Regions from separate parts of the Homo sapiens genome. Here regions 2, 3, 4, 5, 6 and 7 are each linked to region 1. The links are contacts of gene promoters, found by promoter capture Hi-C in blood cells and fetal thymus (Javierre and others, 2016). All regions are on one chromosome and are shown on one strand. The core of a region is centred on a gene start or on the middle of the fragment in contact, and the rest is flanking DNA. Distances in the headings are between cores, read along the strand shown.

Evidence for each region. The method cuts DNA at HindIII sites, captures the fragments that hold promoters and counts their contacts. A CHiCAGO score of 5 or more calls a contact.
Region 2: a contact is called between a fragment that was not itself captured here and the fragment with the promoter of COG5 in region 1, in 1 of 17 cell types (fetal thymus). The highest score is 9.8, in fetal thymus.
Region 3: a contact is called between a fragment that was not itself captured here and the fragment with the promoter of COG5 in region 1, in 1 of 17 cell types (fetal thymus). The highest score is 5.3, in fetal thymus.
Region 4: a contact is called between a fragment that was not itself captured here and the fragment with the promoter of COG5 in region 1, in 1 of 17 cell types (fetal thymus). The highest score is 7.6, in fetal thymus.
Region 5: a fragment that was not itself captured here is called in contact with the fragment with the promoter of COG5 in region 1 in 4 of 17 cell types (fetal thymus, naive CD4 T cells, total CD8 T cells and 1 more); the score reaches 8.0 in fetal thymus.
Region 6: a contact is called between a fragment that was not itself captured here and the fragment with the promoter of COG5 in region 1, in 1 of 17 cell types (non-activated CD4 T cells). The highest score is 5.1, in non-activated CD4 T cells.
Region 7: a contact is called between a fragment that was not itself captured here and the fragment with the promoter of COG5 in region 1, in 1 of 17 cell types (fetal thymus). The highest score is 6.8, in fetal thymus.

The regions. Positions count from the first base shown.
Region 1 is chr7:107,562,574-107,565,313 of GRCh38, forward strand. It overlaps COG5 (component of oligomeric golgi complex 5), which reads right to left and starts at 1,347. Exons shown (of 22, transcript NM_006348.5): 1 at 1,230-1,347. The coding sequence starts at 1,323. DUS4L-BCAP29 (DUS4L-BCAP29 readthrough) reads left to right here and starts at 1,398. Exons shown (of 13, transcript NR_163941.2): 1 at 1,398-1,636; 2 at 2,015-2,103. DUS4L (dihydrouridine synthase 4 like) reads left to right here and starts at 1,398. Exons shown (of 8, transcript NM_181581.3): 1 at 1,398-1,636; 2 at 2,015-2,103. RefSeq lists silencers at 1,226-1,436, 1,475-1,574 and enhancers at 1,275-1,394, 1,925-2,740. The HindIII fragment of the contact is 2,647 bases long and covers 1-2,226 here.
Region 2 is chr7:106,597,753-106,600,492 of GRCh38, forward strand. CTB-30L5.1 (a long non-coding RNA gene) reads right to left here and starts at 1,095. Exons shown (of 4, transcript NR_187788.1): 1 at 1,002-1,095. RefSeq lists an enhancer at 1,204-1,253. The HindIII fragment of the contact is 1,008 bases long and covers 821-1,828 here.
Region 3 is chr7:108,526,291-108,529,030 of GRCh38, forward strand. LOC124901722 (a long non-coding RNA gene) reads left to right here and starts at 185. Exons shown (of 2, transcript XR_007060473.1): 1 at 185-1,355. It also overlaps a transcript of PNPLA8 not described here. RefSeq lists an enhancer at 124-463. The HindIII fragment of the contact is 1,289 bases long and covers 708-1,996 here.
Region 4 is chr7:106,657,648-106,660,387 of GRCh38, forward strand. It overlaps CCDC71L (coiled-coil domain containing 71 like), which reads right to left. Exons shown (of 1, transcript NM_175884.6): 1 at 1-2,740. The coding sequence ends at 2,542. Among named protein-coding and RNA genes, the nearest start is that of CCDC71L, 2.1 kb to the right of the region's middle. RefSeq lists an enhancer at 2,285-2,334 and a silencer at 2,685-2,740. The HindIII fragment of the contact is 1,046 bases long and covers 897-1,942 here.
Region 5 is chr7:106,791,845-106,794,584 of GRCh38, forward strand. All of the region lies in intron 1 of LINC02577 (long intergenic non-protein coding RNA 2577), which reads left to right. Among named protein-coding and RNA genes, the nearest start is that of LINC02577, 18 kb to the left of the region's middle. The HindIII fragment of the contact is 160 bases long and covers 1,247-1,406 here.
Region 6 is chr7:106,858,422-106,861,161 of GRCh38, forward strand. No RefSeq gene overlaps it. Among named protein-coding and RNA genes, the nearest start is that of PIK3CG, 5.5 kb to the right of the region's middle. The HindIII fragment of the contact is 1,877 bases long and covers 492-2,368 here.
Region 7 is chr7:107,044,903-107,047,642 of GRCh38, forward strand. PRKAR2B (protein kinase cAMP-dependent type II regulatory subunit beta) reads left to right here. Exons shown (of 11, transcript NM_002736.3): 1 at 1-312. The coding sequence starts at 6. Among named protein-coding and RNA genes, the nearest start is that of PRKAR2B, 1.6 kb to the left of the region's middle. RefSeq lists silencers at 1-115, 1-196. The HindIII fragment of the contact is 542 bases long and covers 1,082-1,623 here.

The sequences.
Region 1 (2,740 bases), core at 97-2,596:
TGCACGTGTATCAGGAGCAACTGCAAATATATCAGGGTCTCTGCCTTGTATCTAAAGTTTAAATTCAGTTTAGCCAAGTTTTAGACAGAGACCCGGTCCTAGAGTTTCCAACATGAAATAGTTCAGAAAACATCATTGCTTTTGACAAAAGTACATAAATTATCATGAAAAGGCACGTAATTCAGGATGACAATAAAATATTTAACAGTCAGAGAAAATAAACAATAATTTGGAACTTTATTTCATTTATTACCCACTTCGGTCTTCAAATGTGTGCATGTGCTTCTAACTGCGATGATGAATTTAAAAAACATTCTGCACCTACTGTATGCAAGATACTGCTATTCACACTGTGGGATATTAAAAAAAGTTTGCAATACAGAAGAGATTAAAACAAGTATACAAATGATTTTAGTACAAGGTAGAATGCGATGGCCACTAGAGAAAAAATTAAGAACAGGTGAGAAGGGCTTTATTTTTATGCTTATAAATGTGAACTTTATTCTGAAGGATAAGAGATTCGGGACATGGTAACTGGATTGACACAACTGAATATGCTTTTCAAGTATATTATATCTAACTTTTCTTATTTTGGGCAACTTCTCTCCAAACTGACTAGCAATAAAATCTGACTGCTAGATTCTGTACAAATGGTTAATCCCAACCTGAACAAATGTCTCAAACCCTCCCCCACGTGTCACTGTAGATAACTGCCTCATAAAGGAGGAAAAAAAAAACCAGCCTGTAAGAGGGGTCACCTGTACAGTCCATTTGTTAAAGGAGTAAGCGTTTCCAGCTCTACTTTAAAACAAGGCCCTATTTCATTATGCGTCTGCCGTCTGTTCTAGAGCTTACACTTTTGAAGAGCTCGAACGCTACACCCCTTCGTCAAGAACTGCGGCAGCAGCCGGTGGCTGCCAACGCGGTCCACAGGGTTTGGGCTCCCGAAACTTCAGGGAAGCTGGAGGCATGGGGGGGGGGGGGGTCGAGTTGAAATGAGGAACACACAGAAACCAAGTGTCCCCAAGACTCCAGAAAAGAGGGAGCCAGTCCCAGAGTAAATAGGTTGGCTAGAACAGTACCCAAGCCAGGGGGCCGGGCGGAGGGGAGTGGTCACGTCCAGACTGGAAAACTTTCTGCAAAGCAACGGGTTGGGTCCACCTCGCTGTCCAGGTGCGGAGCAGCGCAGACCCCCAACCCCACGACCTGGTCAGACCCCGTCTCCTTACCGTCCTGCAGAAGTTCCCGGACTGTAGCTGCAGCCGCTCCAGAGCCTCGAGCTCCGAGGCCAGCTACAGCGACGCTGCCGCCGCCACCTTCCATGTTGGCAGGTGCCGGGTTGATGTCGTCAGCAGCAGAACGGCTCCGCCCAGGTGGTGACGCAGAATCCCGGCGCCGCCCGCCCACCCAGCCCATGGCTCCAGGCCCACCTGGCGAACTGACTCTCAGCCCGCGCCTGGGCTAAGCCTGGCTAGGAGCCGCGCAGGTACTCGAGCAGTGGGCGCCCAGGGTCCGAGTGCTCTGCGCCCAGCGCACCGAGGGAGCCAAGGCCGTCGGGCCGGCGCTTTCAGCTGTCTCTCGCAGCAGCTCAGGGCCGCGCCCCCTGGGCTGGCGTCGTGCCCTAGCCAAGGAGAAGGTGGGCACCGGAACGTGGCCGCAGCGCTTATCTGTGAAGCAAGTATTAAACCTCAGAACAGGGGCCGCGCGGCGTAAGGCAGGAGAGCAGAGCGGAGGTTTCAGGGAGCTTCGTTTGCCCTCCACACTCACAAGAGTCACGCGTTAGTTGCTACACAGCTTTATCTGTTCCACGCCTTGATTGGCACTCCTGGGGTAATAAAAGCCCGCAGGAAATGCTTGGGAAGAAAAGTTGCTGGGGATGAACAGTGAAGAGAATTAGGGAGAGTCGATGAAGAAGGAAGTCTGAACCATAAAAGGACCAATAAAACTCACTGTCTCTACCCTCCTTCCTTCCCATGAGACCTTTGACCTTTTGCCTTTTCTACTTCTTCCTCAGTTTCAGTCACGTGCCAGACTTTTTCTTAATTACAAACTGATAGATGGTCCACATCTCAACTAACAGTATTGACGCTGTAAGAGCATCAGGTTGGTTCCCATTGTATCTTCTTTACTAATACGTTCGCGTTTTTGACCTAGATTTCTTTCTTCTAAGATAAATACTGATAAATTAACAGGGTCAGGCAACCACAAGTATGCAAGACAGTCTTAAGCTTCTTCGCAAAAAGAAGCTGGAAGATGACTTTTTCATTTTGTACAGTAGGTATGTATCCAGGAAACCAATTTTATCCAGTTCCAGAGCTACGTGGTTTTCTACATTCTGTTTCAAAAAGGTGCTATTACTTATCCTGTGCTTATCGCTGTTCTAAGTATTTTATAACTCAATGCATTTCATACTCATAACACCTCAGGTAAGCAAGTCTTATGCTACACTGCATTATGCTCTCTTTGTCTCAGAGGATTTTCCCTAGTATGTAAGATCTTAGTCATGATGGGAATAGGGGTGATTCATTCATTACTTGTGAATTAGGAATTGTTTTTCCTTCCTTGGCTTTATTCCCCCCAGTGGAAGATTTTAGAAGAGTGAGTAATATTCATTCATACAGCGAAAGTTTTGACCCCTCTACTCTGCATGCTCTCATGAGTTTACAAACATAAGACTCAATCCATATTCTAAAAGGAGTTAATAGGTAAGGTAGGAACCCATTTAAACAAACAATTGTAC
Region 2 (2,740 bases), core at 75-2,574, 960 kb before region 1:
CATTTTTACTATGTTAAAATTTATGTATGGAAAAAATAATGTCAAAGACAAATAAAAACTTGGGAAAATATTTGCCCCACCCATAGCATGCAAAAGGCTAATTTTCATTATACATTCGAGAGTTATTTCAAAAAAAAATCATGAACAGAGCACACAAACAGAAAATTCACCAGAAAATAAATATAAATGGCATAAAAATATAAAAAGATATTCAACCTTAAAATTTTAGATGGTAATTTAAAATAAAATGAAATATCACTATTCATTTACTGGACAAAAATCTTTGCTAATGCACAGTATTGATGAAAGGAGAGAAAGAGACACTTCCAGACAGTGAATAGACAAATTGGTACATCTTCTTTGGAGGACAATTAAAAATGATACTAGTAATAATAATATAAATAGCTTACTTTTTTTGAGTATCAGCTATGTCAGATAGACGTTCTATGTGTTTCAGATATTCTAACTCATTTACTCCTCATAACAACCAAATGAGGTAGTTTCTATCACTATCACTATGAGAACACTAAGGCACAAAATGATTAAGAAACTTGTTCAAGATCACATGTCTAGTAAATGGAGAAGCTGAGATTCAAACCCAGAAAGTCTGGAAAATTCAACTTAAAACACCACACCACCACACACACACGCACACATGTTAACTACGGGTTGTAATAGATGTGTTAATTAATTTGACTGTAGTAATCGTAGTAATCAGTATCCAGTGTACATATATGTGTATCACATCAACATGTTGTACACCTTGAATATATATATACTTTTTATCTGTCAATTAGATATTTTTAAATTAAATAAACCAAGCTTGACAACACCCATAAAAATTCAAAAATTTTATACCCATTATATTCATTAGGATTAGATTTAGGTACTTGACATAGAAAAGAAAATAACTGTTGCTTAAACGAGGTAAAAGTTAATTTCTCTCCCAAATAAATAAAATCTGGAGGTATATAGCTTAGAACTGGCAGGGCAGCTCTTACCCTATAAAGTCCTCAAGAACCTGGCTCCTTCCAGCTCCCCACTCACCACCAAAAGGGTGTGGCCCTAGGCAGCATGTGAAGTACAAAAACGAATAAAGAATAGAGGACAGAAGGCACTTGTCATCTGTCTCTCAGAGAAGTTTTTCAGAAGCTGTCACGCGACACTTCCCGTTCCACTGCTCTAGCTGCAAAGGAGGCTGGGAAATGTAGTCTTAATTCTGGGCCGCCATTTGCACAGCTTTGCATTGTATTACCATGGAAGAGGAGGAGAAGGGAGATTGAGGGACATGTGGCCAGCTCTTTCCTTCCTGCTGACACCACAATTCAACTTCTAGGAAAATTTCTACTAGATTAATGGCACATTTGTGTAACAACATATTACACTGATTATTCCCCATTTATCCTTCCTCTCCCTGCCTACCCTGTACCTTGCAGACTGACCTCCATGGACTGCATCACCTGGGCTTCCCCAACCTCTGACTTCCACTTCTATTCAGCAGCTGGAAGAACCAGCAGAAAACCAGAGAGCAAAAGGAGATAGCAGTCAGGGTATTTATTCCTCTTGCTCCTACTCTGATGGCTGCAGTTTGGCTACTGGCTCCATTCCTCACCATGTGGCTGTAGCTCCGTTTGGCTGGCCTCTCTCCCACAGCCATGGTCTCACTGGCTTCTAGTAACACTGCTCCCTCCCCTTATCCCTTCATGCCTGGGGTGGTGAAGGCTTGTCACTGTTGGGAGTTCCTGAATGTTTAGCCATTTATTGCTGGTTCTATTCATCCTGCCAGCACCTGTGTAAATAGTACCTCCATGACTAAACTCGTCAGGTAAGCTTGGGATGTGCCATCTGCTTCTGCTGGACCCTGATTCATACACATACGTGCAAGGACTTTCATTACAGCAGTGCTTGAAATAGTAATAGACCAAAACAAATTAAATATTTATCAATAGGGAACTGATTAAATATCATGCAGTTATAGTAGTAATATAATGTAGCAGTTTAATAAATAATGGTGCACTATCATGTACACTTAAAAATTTGCTAAGAAGGTAGACCTCAAGTTATGTGTTCCTACTGCACTAAAATAATAATAATGTCTTTATGAGCTAAAATAGAGAGCTCTTGATGATAGGATGCTACCAACTGTATATTAAAATATAGATATAGATGTACAGTTAGGTTTGGATTTAGATATATTTGCATGGTGTGTTATAAATGTATATGTAATATGCATTTCTATACTTAAAGGTTTTTAAGGAAAAGACTAGAAACTGAGACTGGTGGTCACCTCTGGGAAAGAATAATGGAGAATAGGGTAGGAAAGAGCTTTACTTTCATTGAATATCCTTTTATACTATATGAATTTTTACTACATATATATTACCTTAAAAAACTATTTAGAGAAAAAAATATTAATTTTCCTTAGGATACATATAATAGGGAAGCATACGAATAAGATAGTAGCATTCCTTTGAGATTCCATTACTATAAATCGGATTCCAATTTTCTCTCCCCACCACTGTCTGCCCTCTCGTAAACCCTCCTCCCATACGGGGGCACACCAAGGGCCCTCGCTTCTAATGAAGGGCAGTACCTCATCCCCTGGATCTACTGTGGTCCTTACTGTGCTCTCCCTATGCATTGGTGTCAATTAAGGGAGTACATGTTCTGTTCCAAAGCTGTAGGAAGTGCTAGAAACCAGGAAAATGAATGATCCCTGTCCTCAGAGAGATTATTTCCT
Region 3 (2,740 bases), core at 102-2,601, 960 kb after region 1:
CCCCGAGATATGCGCAATAGAGCATGACGGAGCGCAAGGCGGGAAGCCGCGACAGACGTGTGTGCGTGCGTGCGTGCGTGCGTGATGCGCGAGGCGTGGCTTGCTGGTGGGGCGTGCTGTGCCTTGGTTGGTTGCCGGGTGTGAGAGCGGTGGGACTTCGTTTTGCCTTCCTGGGCGGGACCTCGGAGCAGTGTCCTGGTTTGCTTGTTTGCGGGCCGCTATTCCCTTTCAGCAGAGATAAGCCTCCCTCTCCGCGTCCCTGAAGCCCCTGCCTGCGCTGAGTTCCTTGGAGCTGGGGGCTGCGATACCAGTCTCTTGGAGGGTGGTGCCCGGCGCGGCCGCGCCCCTTTCTCTATATCCATTCCTGGGCATGGCCACCCAGACTAAATGTCACTCAAAAGCGAGTTGACATATATTACTGTATTGGAAGTTAGCATAAACCGCCCCACAAATGGTCCCACACGTAACACATCTTTTTAAAATTGTGGCATTTCATACGTACCACAGGGGCAAACTACAGCCCTCAGGGCAAATCCAGCCCACCGCAGGTTCTGCTGTACTAGGAGCTAAAAATGGGTTTCACATTTTTCAAAGGTTAAAAAAAAAGTTTTGCGACAGATGACAATTATATGACATTCATATTTGTGTCTGCTTTTTAAAGTTTCATTAGAACATAGCTTTGCATTCCTATACATGCTGTTAATTAAAGCTTTTATACTACAATAGCGAATTTGGGTAGTTGCAATAGCCCCTTACCCTCTTGAAGTGACCTTGCAATTACGTTGAGGTCGGGAAAACAGATCAGTTTCAACTAGTTATCAACCTCAAAATGTTATCAAGACTTATACTGTACTCTCAAGGCTTACCCACTACCCATGGGTATGTATGCTTTAGCCCCCTGTAAGGTTATTGTAAAGTCCTTAAGGAAGGGGATTCTTTGACCTGTCAAATGTAGTGGATGTTACCCTGATAGTTGTGTTGTTTTGATTTTTTTAAATCAAGGAGGGAAAGCCAGCTTGCTATGTTCTTGGGACACAGTGTCTGGATTATGTACATCATAATGCCTGGTAAACCCCAGCAGTGGATAAGCCAGACATGTTATTTAGCTACAGGAGAGTTAAAAGATGTATGCACCAATTAAGCCTTACAGGCGTGTGGAAGGAGCTTTAGTTTTTGAGACAGATTCCTCCTTGTTGCTAAAGAAAAATTATTCTGACACTTGTTAAAATGTCAAGGAAGACATTTAGAACTATTGCAATAGGTGCCATGACTATCACCATGGGGGAGAGAGATTGGCCTCAAGTTTTAATACAACAAAAACAGCTAGGATTTATAACCAGCAAGCAGACTGAGGGGTCAGTTCATGGAAAATTACTAAGAAGTGATATCAAGGGTCGGGGATATTCTTGTTAAAGTGACTTACAAGATTCTTGCTGAAGACAGGCGGAGATGATCAATTATCAAGGCTAGGAGATACTCTCTAAACTGACTTTGCAAGATTCTTGCTAAAACTGGACTCAGCAGGCCTAAGACAGGGGCCCAAGGATGAGGCCTAGTTGGGAAGAGGGCTCAGAGGAGCCTAACTAAAGTATGGTCAAGGAGAGAGCACCACCATTCCCTCTCCGCTTATGCTCTTTCATCCCCTAATTTAGTCAGATGTTATTAAATATCCAGATTTTCCTCCCATGTCAGAAATTTTCAAATAACGCCCAATTCCTGCTTCTCCATTCTTATCCTTCCTCTCCCTCCCTTGTCTACCACCATACCTTTAATCAGTCATGAAGTCTGATGAGTTTTACCGCAGAATTTCTTGAATCGTTCCTCTGCTCCACATTCGCATTTCCACTGCTCTAGTTCAGGCTTTCATCCTTGCTCTTCAGTTTCATCTAAACTGGTTTTCCAGCCTGTAACTAACCTCTGACCCAGTCAGTCTCTTCTGTGCAACCACGGTAATCTTTTGAAAGTGCAAGTCCAATCGTGTTTTCCCGAATTAAAAAGCTTTTGCTGGCTGTACATCTTCACAGAATATACCGAATGAAATTATAGGTTCTGACCCTGCTGACCTTCCAGCCTTTACTTTCACCACTTGCCTCTCACTCTCTATCCTCCAGCCACACCTGTACTTCCCCAGATACTCTTGTTCCTTTTCATACTTAGTGCCTTGGTCATGCTGTTGGCTTAGCTCCCCTTCCACCTTGTCCTCCTAAAGATTTGTTTGTCCTTCAGCCAGGAAAATCTTACCTCACTACTCATAGAATGAATCATTCCTTCCACCTGTGCTCACTTCTCTTATTGCCCTTGCTGCACAGTATTATAATTTATTTGTTTATATGCCTGCCAGTTTCCTGCAGTCAAGGAGCGTAAGGTAAACTGTATTGTCTGGATCTAGCGTAACATCCAACAAATAGTAGACTCTCTAAAATTCTGTATTATTGAATTGATTTTTAGTTTCATTTAGATTACTAGTTTGATAAGTTAAAAATGGAAAATAAAACCCATTTATGATTCTTTTGATGTTGGGCAGTTTTGAGACAAAAGAGAATTATATTTAATTTCAAACAAATTCAGTAGTATGCAAAATTGGAGATTATCTTGTGTATAATAGCAGACTAATGCCTTCAGGAAATCATCTATACTTGAAATAATGCTAAATACAGTAATTGTTCAACGCTATATTCTTTGGAAGCTGGGTAAAAGAGACATCACATTGCCCTGTATCAGTTACTTGCTATGCTCATTC
Region 4 (2,740 bases), core at 170-2,669, 900 kb before region 1:
CACATTTTAAAAGTTGTCACATAGGTTTTTACCAAAGGGCAAAAATAAAGATTTTTTACATCTTATTTCACAGACTAGAAATGGCATAATTTTTGAATAGTCCAGATGAATACCATATTGAATTCAAGATGGACAATCAGATCCAAAATGGAATCAGATAGCCCATGTAATCCAAAGAAGCATTTATGTGAGTTCAAGTATGCTAAAGTAACAAGGCATAGGAGAGAAAAATGTCAAGAATCTCAGTTAAAATAAATGAATGGTGTCAGTGGTTATGTTTCAGTGGTGTGCTGAGCAGTTATCCTCCCAGTTAAGCCAAATTTCAAAATCCTCTGGAAAACTATCTAGATAAGCTGTATGTCGAAATTGCATTCTAATATGGCCATTGGGTTTATTTTTCATTATTATAAAACTATATACAATAGTAAAGTTGTACAAATACATTTTTTCCAGGTGCTAGTTAGCTATAAAAGTTAACAATATATTTTTGGGAAGAAAACCCTATGCATCTGAAATACAATTGGCAATGGAAGCTAATAACCAAAAGATATGTCTAAGCTTCCTATCACAAATATAATTTAACACTCTCCATCTTCTAAGGAATTATTCATTTTTATTTACTCATGTGACAGTGTTTGTACAATGCATTATCATTGAGTAGTGAATAAAAGACTGAGGCTTACTAGAAAACTGGCATCAAGTTATATATATGTGTGTATATATATATCATATTATTTCTTTTAACAAGAACACTGAAATTGAAGTCACAACACTCCTATACGGACTACTAAACTTGAAATACTCATTTCAGAAAGCTATGCCATTTGAATTCTAGGAACGCAAGAGTCAAAATTGTAACTCTCATTATTCTCCTAAAAAGCTGCCAAGCAGAGATAAGCTTTAGTATTAAAGATTTCACATGTCAAGTTCCAGCCCAGTATGGATCGTTTCATGGCAGAATACTTAAATTTGAAATAATAGTGGTACAAAAACACTACTTGACCCTTTAGGTATTGCAGTAAAAGCTGGCTGTGGCACTGCTGGCTAAAAACTATTAAGTTTTCCTGCCACAAATGACCAAAGGCACTTGGATAATCAAGAATTCCACACTGGGCCATATGGTATAAACACTATAAAAGCGTAAAGAAGGGTCAGTATTCTGTGTGTCTCGCCTGTTTGATTCCTGTGGTCTTCAGCTGTCAAAGACCTAGAACTGCAAACATATAATGAGTGGCAAAAAGGTTAAAAAAAATGTTGGGACAAAAAAATCAACTAAAAATCAACTAATTTTCATTATGTTTGTAAAACTGATGAATATTAGTCTAGACATTTCTTGTTATCCAACAACAAAAACAAAAAGGAAATAGATTTCGCCCAAAGTAACCTTAACCAGTTATTTGATACCAAGAAATGCCTCCACCCCTCTTGATCATTAATAGTTCTAAGAATTCTAATGGGTATTCTGTTTATCATTTTAGTGATAATGTTTACACACATCCATCTCTCCTATGCAACTCCCATTTTAAAATACATTATCCTTGTAAAATACATTACAAGGATAATGTATTTTAAAATACTTTAACGCATAATATTCCTAGATTTGTATGTTAGACCAGGACAGGGGGCCAAATCATCTCCAGTCGGATTCCAGTGACTCCTGTAACCAAAACCAGTTCTTCACAATTTATTCATTTTTTTTAATCACACACCATATGGTTTCAATGCATTTTTTTATTCAATTCAAAAGAATTTAACAAGTTAACTTTTCCTAAACAAAAGTTTTCATGTGTATTCTACCATTTTTAGGAGCTCAGTAAATATAAACATTGTTTCAATACAAAACCTTTAAAAATACCTTGAAAATGTTTAAACAGTTGTATTTTGCATGTCTTTGTTTGTAATCACTGAGCCCATACAAATCCTTGCACTACTAACAGTCACAAGCTTGAACCTCTTAAAAAATATCCTCGATCAAAGCTTTGGAATCCAGTAAAAATTAGGAAACGAGTGGGCTTCAGAATACCCTGAGCACAAACTAGTGCAACACCACATGTTCGAACTTCTGTCCACAAAGAGGGGTGACAGTGAAATAGAAAAAGGGGGAGATAAAGAACAAGTAAATTCTGGCTTTATTACACAAGCACGAAACCAAATTCCTTTGGAAAAATAATGTCTTCGGAGGACTTCCAGACCAGTGAGGTAGAGTCCAACAGTGAGAAAACGGATCTGCCCCTAAGGTCCTGGAGACGTCTCAATCGGTGGTCAGGAAGAAAGGGACCTCCCCTGCGGGTCCAGCTGTCCCCTCCCTCCGCAGGCCGGGTACGGGAGGCAGCAGAGGGCACACCTGCCCCAGCGTCCAAGACGACCGCGCCGCGGCCCGGGACAGGGACAACCATCCGGCAACTTCTTCGCGCGTAAAGTGCATTGGGGGCCGGGGTCCTGGCCGGATCTGTAAACACTCGACTGACACTTGTTCATTCCTCCGGGCGGAAGGCCTGTCCCAAGGTCGGGGCCGGCAGGAGGCGCCCTGGAGGCCGCACCTCATGCCCGGGGCACCGGGAAGCGGCGGAGCCTCACCATGGGTTCCAGGTTCACTCGCAGGACCTGGCGCGCCCTGCGCCGCGCTGCCGCCAGGCTGCGCTCGCCCCACACGTCGCTGCCGACGCGGATGGTGGGGAAGGTGGTCAGCGTCGGGGTGGCCGCCCTCCAGATCTCCTCCAAGGTGCGGCCCCCGAAGCAG
Region 5 (2,740 bases), core at 77-2,576, 770 kb before region 1:
TCCCTTCCTCTCACTGAGTCTGCCTGGCCCATCCATCCCAGGCATCAGGCCCCTTCCTCTGTGACCCCGACTGAATTCTTCAGTGCCTCCTTCTCCAAGTTCCAGATGACCCCGAGGATCAATTAGTTCCCATGCAGTGCTAACAAATGCCACAGGCTCAGACCCTGGGTCCTGTCTTCCTCTCTAAATCAACACTTGCAGGAAAAAAGTATGGACCCAACTAGAAAGTACTTTTAATGATTAAGTTATTAAATAAACCCCAAAAAAGTACAGTGAAAGGGATTGGTAAGGGGGATAATTAGAATATAGCCTACTGGTATATCTGGTAAAGTTTTTATGATAATAAATTAAAATATCATAAAGTTTTTATAATAAATAGGATATTGATTAGTCTTTTCTAAACCTCAGCATACTTTTTTTTTGGTTTTGAAACAGAGTCTCTGTCACCCAGGCTGGAATGTAATAGCACGATCTTGGCTCACTGCAACCTCCACCTCCTGGGCTCAAGTGATCCTCCTGCCTCAGCCTCGGCATACTTTCTAACCTTGTTTATGTCACCACAAGAAACCCAAGGCTCCTGGGTCAGCCCTTATCCCCCACACGGCTCTATAAGCAGTAAGCAACCACCTCCCCAAACACACACACGCAATCCTTATCTTCCTTCCTGCCCTTTTGTAAAACTTAGCATTTATGATCATTTGACAAATCATATACTTTATTTACTTGTTTGTCCATCCTTTCCTGGAATAAAAGGACTATTAGAGCTGGAATTTGTTTGGACAGAAAAAAAAAGTGTTTAAATAAAAGCAGAGAGAGAGAGACATGGTTTATAACAAAGTCTCATTAGGATGATGAAACACTTAAATAAATTTTTACTGGGGTCGTGATCCCTGGAAAAACTTTCAAAATAAGAACTCTGACATTCACACTGAATGACTCTTCCTTCCATCACCGAGACACTCTGATCCAGATCAGATGGCCTCACAGTTCCGGCCAACTGGGTGAATCCAGGGTTAAAAATGGCCACCTACTTTTCATGGGGCCCACTCGACAGCTCAGTTGTTTGGAGGTATAGTGCTTGCAGAACCAAGGTCACAGGTAATGAGCGGGATTATTGTTCATCATTAAGCATTAAGTGTTATCTATGAAATGATGTTGTTTAATGGTGCTATAGGCTTTTAGCAATAGAGTCATCAAGAAATATAAAATCCAGACTTTAGGTTTAGTGGGAGAAGAGGGAAAGGAAAGCTTAAAATTAGGATAGTTGTAAGAAAGATGCTTATTAAAGAAAGATGAATGGAGTTTCTCTGCTTCTAGTCCTAAAAGACACTAGTGTTACAGGTACCTGTTATTTTTCCACCTGCCCAGCAGGTGTCAGTGTAAGACAATGTTCCTAGAACTGACCAAGCTTTTTTAAAAATTGAGAGTTATCAAATTATAAAATACAGAAGATACAATAAAGATGGGTTTGCAAAAATTTTCACATGAGCCTTTAAATGAGGGAAGGAGATGACCAAAAATAAGTTTCCAGAAAGGTAAGATGATCAGAGTTGGACTGGGGGGCCTCAGAAGGCCCCATCTGGCTCTCAGATTTCTTGTCAATTCAGCGGGAATTCCTGGAGCATCTCGGGGCTGCAGGAGGACTCAGCACTGTTGGAAGAGTTCGTTGCTGGTAACTAGCACAGTAACAAATGAACACTCCCAGGGAAAATGGTAGTATTCCACCAGGCATACTCTCTTAAAAAACAGACACCGTCTCTGCTTCTCAGAGGCTTACAATAAGAACATAGAAATCCTGTAATTCATGAAAATATATTATTATAAGAACTAAAAAAGTGAATCAAGGAAAAAGAGATGGTCATCAATGGTTGCATGAATAATTTGCAGAATGCACTGAGTTAGTCAGGGTGAGCTTCCCGGAGGAGCTGGCCATTGAGCTGTGACGAAAGAGAACAGAGCCACAAATCCAGGGTTCCACCCTAGCTCCTGCCTTTCTGTTCTGCATTCAGTTTTTCTCCTCCAAATACAAATGTCCTATACACTGATGAAGGGCAAGCAATACAGAAAAAGAAAATAAACACAACTTATTTTTTTAATTCACTATATAAAGGTTCCGTGGGTATTTTAAAGGGAAAATGGTGGGGGGCGGGGGCTCTTATCTATTGCGCATGTAACAAGACATACATTATGTCATACAAGTCTAACCAAAATCCTGAGATGTAAGTAGTATTGTTCTCATTTTTGCATAAAGGATCCAAGGCTCCCAGAAGCCATAAACTTGCCCAAGATTATGATATCTAATATTTATGAGGGATTACTCCGCATACACAATAATCCTATGAAGTTACTATTATTCCCATTTATTGGATGAAGACATTAAGCCTTACAAAAAATAAGTGATTGTCTCCCCAAAGCCACAGGCCTCAGGAGCCATTAAGATGAAATTCAAACTCATGTTTAGCAAGGTGGGTTCTCTGGGAACTCAGGTTGTAGGTGTTTGCTAGGAAGTGCCCTTAGGATTAGTACCTATGGAGAGAAGGGGAGGGTGGAAGGATTGGCCAGCACTGGGCCAAAGAGCCAGGCTTTTCTACACCTGTCTCCATCAGTCACTGGATATGGGCCTCACAGGAGGGAATGGCCTTGGGGAAGGCAGCTCTCTGCAACTGAGGTGGACCTGAAGGGTTGGTACCTGACAACTGTCTGCTGACAGCACTCCCAGAGCTAGAACAAGTCCTTCCTA
Region 6 (2,740 bases), core at 180-2,679, 700 kb before region 1:
TAGCCTGGGAGACACAGTGAGAACCTGTCTCCAAAAAAAAAAAAGAAAAGTATGAAAGTATGGAAAGTAGCTTAAATCTTCAGGTAAAATTAATTTTTGACATTCACATACAGAAAAGTGATCATTGAGTGCACAAGCTTTGTATGTGCCAAGCTTCATGAACTTCCACAAACTGATCATAAGCTAGGCCGGCACCGCATCAAGAAACTACCAGCAACCCAGAAGCTCCTCCCTTTCAGGTTGTACATACTATTTTAAAAGAAAAGGAGGCAAGAGGGGAGGAGGAGAGAATGAAAAAGGCTGGAGGAATGGAGACTGCCAAGGCATCTATTTGAAAAGAAAATGAGAACCGCTATGGCAGCAGAGGGGCACACCCGGGGGAACTCGAGCCCTCACTGAGACACACCCTGCAAGGCATTTCCCAATCTGCAGAAAATTCTCACTTGATTCAACAGACACACATGATGGGTAATTCCAGAAAATGCAGGCCAAGCTTTGAAGGCAAAAATATTCCTCCTAGGTATAGAGCAAGGCAGGTAGAGATCCCTTCCTGTCCCGCCCCAGGTCCCTGCAGGAGCTAGTGCCCGTGGCCCGCAAGGTCCTTGTCTACCCATCAGAGAAGAAAGCAGTACAGAGGCCACTGGAATAAAGTTGATTTTTGCTTGAAAAGAAGAAGAAGGAGGTGCAGGGCCGTGGCCTCACAGTGACCCGGCTCACCCTCCTGGGGACCAGAAAAGCACTTGGCTCCCGGCCAGCCCCAACACCCACTTCCCAGCCCAAGCCTGCTTTGCTCCTGTGACCTTTTTCTGAACCTGGAGAGGTGGGGCACCCTCTTGGCTTCCTTCCAGCTGGATGTGACTCCTGCCAGACTCAAAGCTGAGAACCCAGGGCTTTGGAAGGAACAATGTTCCCTAAGAAGGCCTGAGAAGCAGCTCCTATTATAATCTCCCTTCCAGCCTCAGGGCCAGGGATTTGAGAGCAGACTCCAACTAAGCTGGTCTACTCATTCTTCCTCTCTCCTAGGACCCTCTGCTATGCTCTTGAACAGGGAAAATCCTATGAAGGAAGGAAACAGATTTGGTTCGGAAACTACTCCCTTATTGCAATCAGCTTTGTCTCTGTCAGGATCATGGTGTGTGTGTGAGACGTGGATGAGACAGTTAGGTAGGTGACTAGATAGGTGCATAGGTAGGTAGATAAAATTCCTTAGCAGCAAGCAGGTAATTCTGAAGGCAGGGACTCAGGGATGGGTCTGGATATCCATTCCATGGGAGGATTTCTGGCTCACAGGACACGGTACCAACGGTCTTTGGTCTTATACTTCAGTCAATATTAGGAATGGAACAACAAAGAAAACTACTAAATTGGACCAAATAAGAGCTATAAAGGAGATGTTTCTAAAGGATTGTGGTTTCTTATAATGTCAAACTAGGTTCCCTCCTAAGTTCCACACCCTACAGACCATTTTCCTCCCAAGTTTCACATTGCAAGGTTTGAAGAGGAGGCAGATTGGAGAGTTTTACGTTACATGGTTACATGGAAGGGAGGGGCTGTCTGGGTTTTGGTTAGTCTGGGAGGCTTTGCGAATATCACTCAGTACTCCCATTGCTTCCTGTAAATACAAAGGAATCCAATGGCTTCCAAAAAGAGAGACTCTATACAAACTAACCATTCCACCAACATTTATCAAGGCCTTGGCTTTGTATGTGGCAAGCACTGTATTAAGCTCTGGGGAATACAGCGAGTCAATACAGAGCAGTCACTCAAAGAACCCAGTCGGGTAGAGGAGGCAGCCCAGTCACCAGCTGTCCTCACCCAGGAGAAGTGCTATGATGACTGCCACTTACCACCTGTGGCACCAAGGGCAAGCCACTCAACTTCTCTGTGCCTTGCTTTTAGCACCTGTAAGTGGAGACAATAGTAGTGCCTCTCCCCTTGGAAGGATGTGAGGATTAAATGAATGAATGTACTAAAGTTCTTAGATCAACGTAAGACTCAAAGAAAGTGCCATAAAAGAGTTTGTGAGCCAGGCACAGTGGTTCACGCCTGTAATCTCAACACTTTGGGAGGCCAAGGCAGGCAGATCACTTGAACCCAGGCGTTCCAGACCAGCCAGGGCAACATGGCAATATCTCATCTCTAGTAAATATACAAAAAATTAGCCGGGTATGGAGGCTCACACCTGTAGTTCCAGCTACTTGAGAGGCTGAGATGGGAGGATCACTTGAGCCCGGGAGGTCAAGCCTGCAGTGAGCTGAGATTGCACTACTGTACTCCAGCCTGAGCAACAGAGTGAGACCCTTCCCTAAAGAAGAGCTTCCACTTATTGGTGGTGATATTGTTATTGTGGTGGTTACTATTGGGAGAAAGCTTCCCTAACCCTATGCTTTCCTGACCAGAAAGCCCTCTCAGTGGAGGTTACTCACTCTGAATACCAATGAAGCAGGAGCTGGTCAAATGGCTGAGGGGATGAGAGAAGGGGGAGGGAGAGGAGAGAGAATGAGGGGAGGGAATAGGACATAGGGAGTGGCACACAGAGGCACAGAGGTGTGGTGGAACACAGAAGGTATGAAAGCAGAAATTGGTGGAATTCAATCATGGAAGGGAATTGGAAGAGGAGAATCTGGAAGAAAGAGTTAAGGATAGTTCATAAGGGATAAATCATAAAAGGTCTAAAGTATTATGCAGGCCAGGTGTGGTGGCTCACACCTGTAATCTCAGCACTTTTGGAGGCTGTGGC
Region 7 (2,740 bases), core at 103-2,602, 520 kb before region 1:
GCAGGATGAGCATCGAGATCCCGGCGGGACTGACGGAGCTGCTGCAGGGCTTCACGGTGGAGGTGCTGAGGCACCAGCCCGCGGACCTGCTGGAGTTCGCGCTGCAGCACTTCACCCGCCTGCAGCAGGAGAACGAGCGCAAAGGCACCGCGCGCTTCGGCCATGAGGGCAGGACCTGGGGGGACCTGGGCGCCGCTGCCGGGGGCGGCACCCCCAGCAAGGGGGTCAACTTCGCCGAGGAGCCCATGCAGTCCGACTCCGAGGACGGGGAGGAGGAGGAGGCGGCGCCCGCGGACGCAGGGGCGTTCAATGGTGAGGACCAGACCCCCCACTTCGCGCCCCCGGATCCCCTCGCTGCCCCCCACCGCTCCCCGCTGTGCTCTCGGATCTTGCCGCTTTGCGCACCCACCTCTCCCCGCATTCTCCACCTTTCCCTACCTTCCCATCTCGCCCACCCCCTCAGCATCCATTTCTGTCTCTCCCACTCGCCCACCTTCCTACTCCGCTCTCTGTCATACCCTCTTCCCTTCCTCTAGAGGTGGGAGAGCTGGGATGTTACGCTTCCCTCTTACCCTTTGCCCCCTCTGCCTGGGCCGGTTGGGGTGGGCATCTGCTAGAAAGACAACTTTCGCTGTGGTTGGAGGTATTTCGCTTAGAGGATACCATTGTGCATAAAGAAACTGGCCCGCTTGGCGTCTTCTTTCAGCCCTTGTATTTATTAATGGAATGTCGAAAGAGAAAAGGAGAACCGTGTTTAATATGATTGGCTTTACTGTTGTTAGGACGGTAGATTCGCTAAAAGAAGCATGAAATTGGACTCACTGGGGCAGAACAAAATTTATGGCCAGTAGCTCTGACATTCTTGGAAATAAGAGTTATCTATTATTTTCCAATTTACCAATACCGTGTTGTGTTATTTTTGGACACGTAACAAAGGATTCTATTTAGTCTGAAACCCACGGGGGTCTTTGGAACGAGGAAATGGGTTAATGGTTTGCTTTTTATATAAAAGACATATTGAATGATTTGGTGCTTTATTTTTTTAAAAGTGTATGAGAAAAACACTGTAGGAAGTTCTGAAAGCTTGTTGGTTGTCTTTAGAATGAAAAGCCAGTGAGTAATTGTAAGGATTGTGCCAGACAGTAGAGCTAGAAAGAATGAATGGGAAAGAAAAAGGAATTTTCTCAAATAGCTGCTCCTGGCAAGTCCCACCCCTTCTGCTTACAACCCTCTTTCCCTAACACACCCAGACACACACCCTCATTTACAGCCCCTTGTATTACACAACATGCCCAAATCTCATTTTTATGGCAACCCAAGCTAAAATACCATGGAGTGCAGTGTGCAAGTGTTTTCTCTTTGTGGTGTAAGGCAAACATGCATGCAGCATTGCACCAGCTTTTATTTATTTACACTGCTTGTGGTTTGTGTGTCCGCAGTGTATTTCATAAAATGAAAACATTTAAAAGTGTCATTTCATTTCCTTGTGTATGCTCCTAGGAAGATGTTTCTTTTCTTTGCAGGATTACATGTTGAAATGGATTATAAAATTAGTGTATTTTTAGTTTCTCCAAAAGAATCCCAGAAACCCTGGAAATTAGTGCGCTGTGAAGATAAAAGTGAAGCTTGTTACTTACAATTTTAATTTTGGACTTCTAAATGTTTCCCCAAGAGGATAAACATAGTCTTAATAATTCTTTTTGCACAAGAATCGAATCAAAAGCTTTTCCTACCAGAAACGAGAAAGAGAAAAGAATGCATGTTTTAAATAGGTAAGAAGCAGCAGCCAGTAACGGATGACAGAAAGGGCAGAGATATCTAATACTTCTTTTATGCTCCTGACATGTTCGTGCACACACACAAAGGGGAAAAAAAGGACTCTTTTCCCAGGTTGGAGAAAACTAGGAACTAAGGGGCTTGGTAAAGACCATATATATATATATATTCTGTATGATATGTTGTTAATATAATCAAAATATTTTGTTTGTATAATGCATTTGTTGAAGTACTTTGCATTGATGATTGCATTTTCTCCTTATAACAATATATTGCGCACAGAAAAGATTCCATTTTCATTTTGTAGTGAAGAAATAAGCCGTTAACTTCTGAACAGCAGGGGTCATTTTATATGGCTTTATATTCTCCAAGGCACCTTTGCTGTAAAAATTGCTCAGTGTGACTTAAACAAGTTAAACTTGTTAAACAATTGCACTATTTACTCCCTAGCCTCACCCCCAAGGACTTTAAAACTTTTTGACTGCAACCAAATACAATTTGATCATTATCCAGGAGGCACATACATCTGTATAACAGAAACTTTGGCAATAGTACAGGTACTTCCTTCTGTCAGATGCAGTGCTTTTTGATATTTCCTATTTGAATCAGTTATTTCTCCCTATTTTAAATTGTATTGAGACCTCCAGTTGAAAAACATTTAATTATAGGCTACAAAGTGATTGGCAAGGTTTCTTGTAAAGGGCCGGTTAGTAAGTGTTTTAGACTTAGGGCAACATGTGGTCTTGATCACTTCTTCTTCAGTTTTTTTTTTTAAACACATACACCTTCTGAGGGTTGCGGTTGTACAAAATTAGCTGCAGATCAAGGCCATAGCTTGCCGACCCCTGGTTAGAAGAAAAAAAAAAAAGTCAAAATAGTACCATTGGGGGAAAAAACAGGAGTGATCCTAAAAAGTATGAGCCTATCAGTTTGACATCTATGTCCAGAAATGTGTCTCATTAGA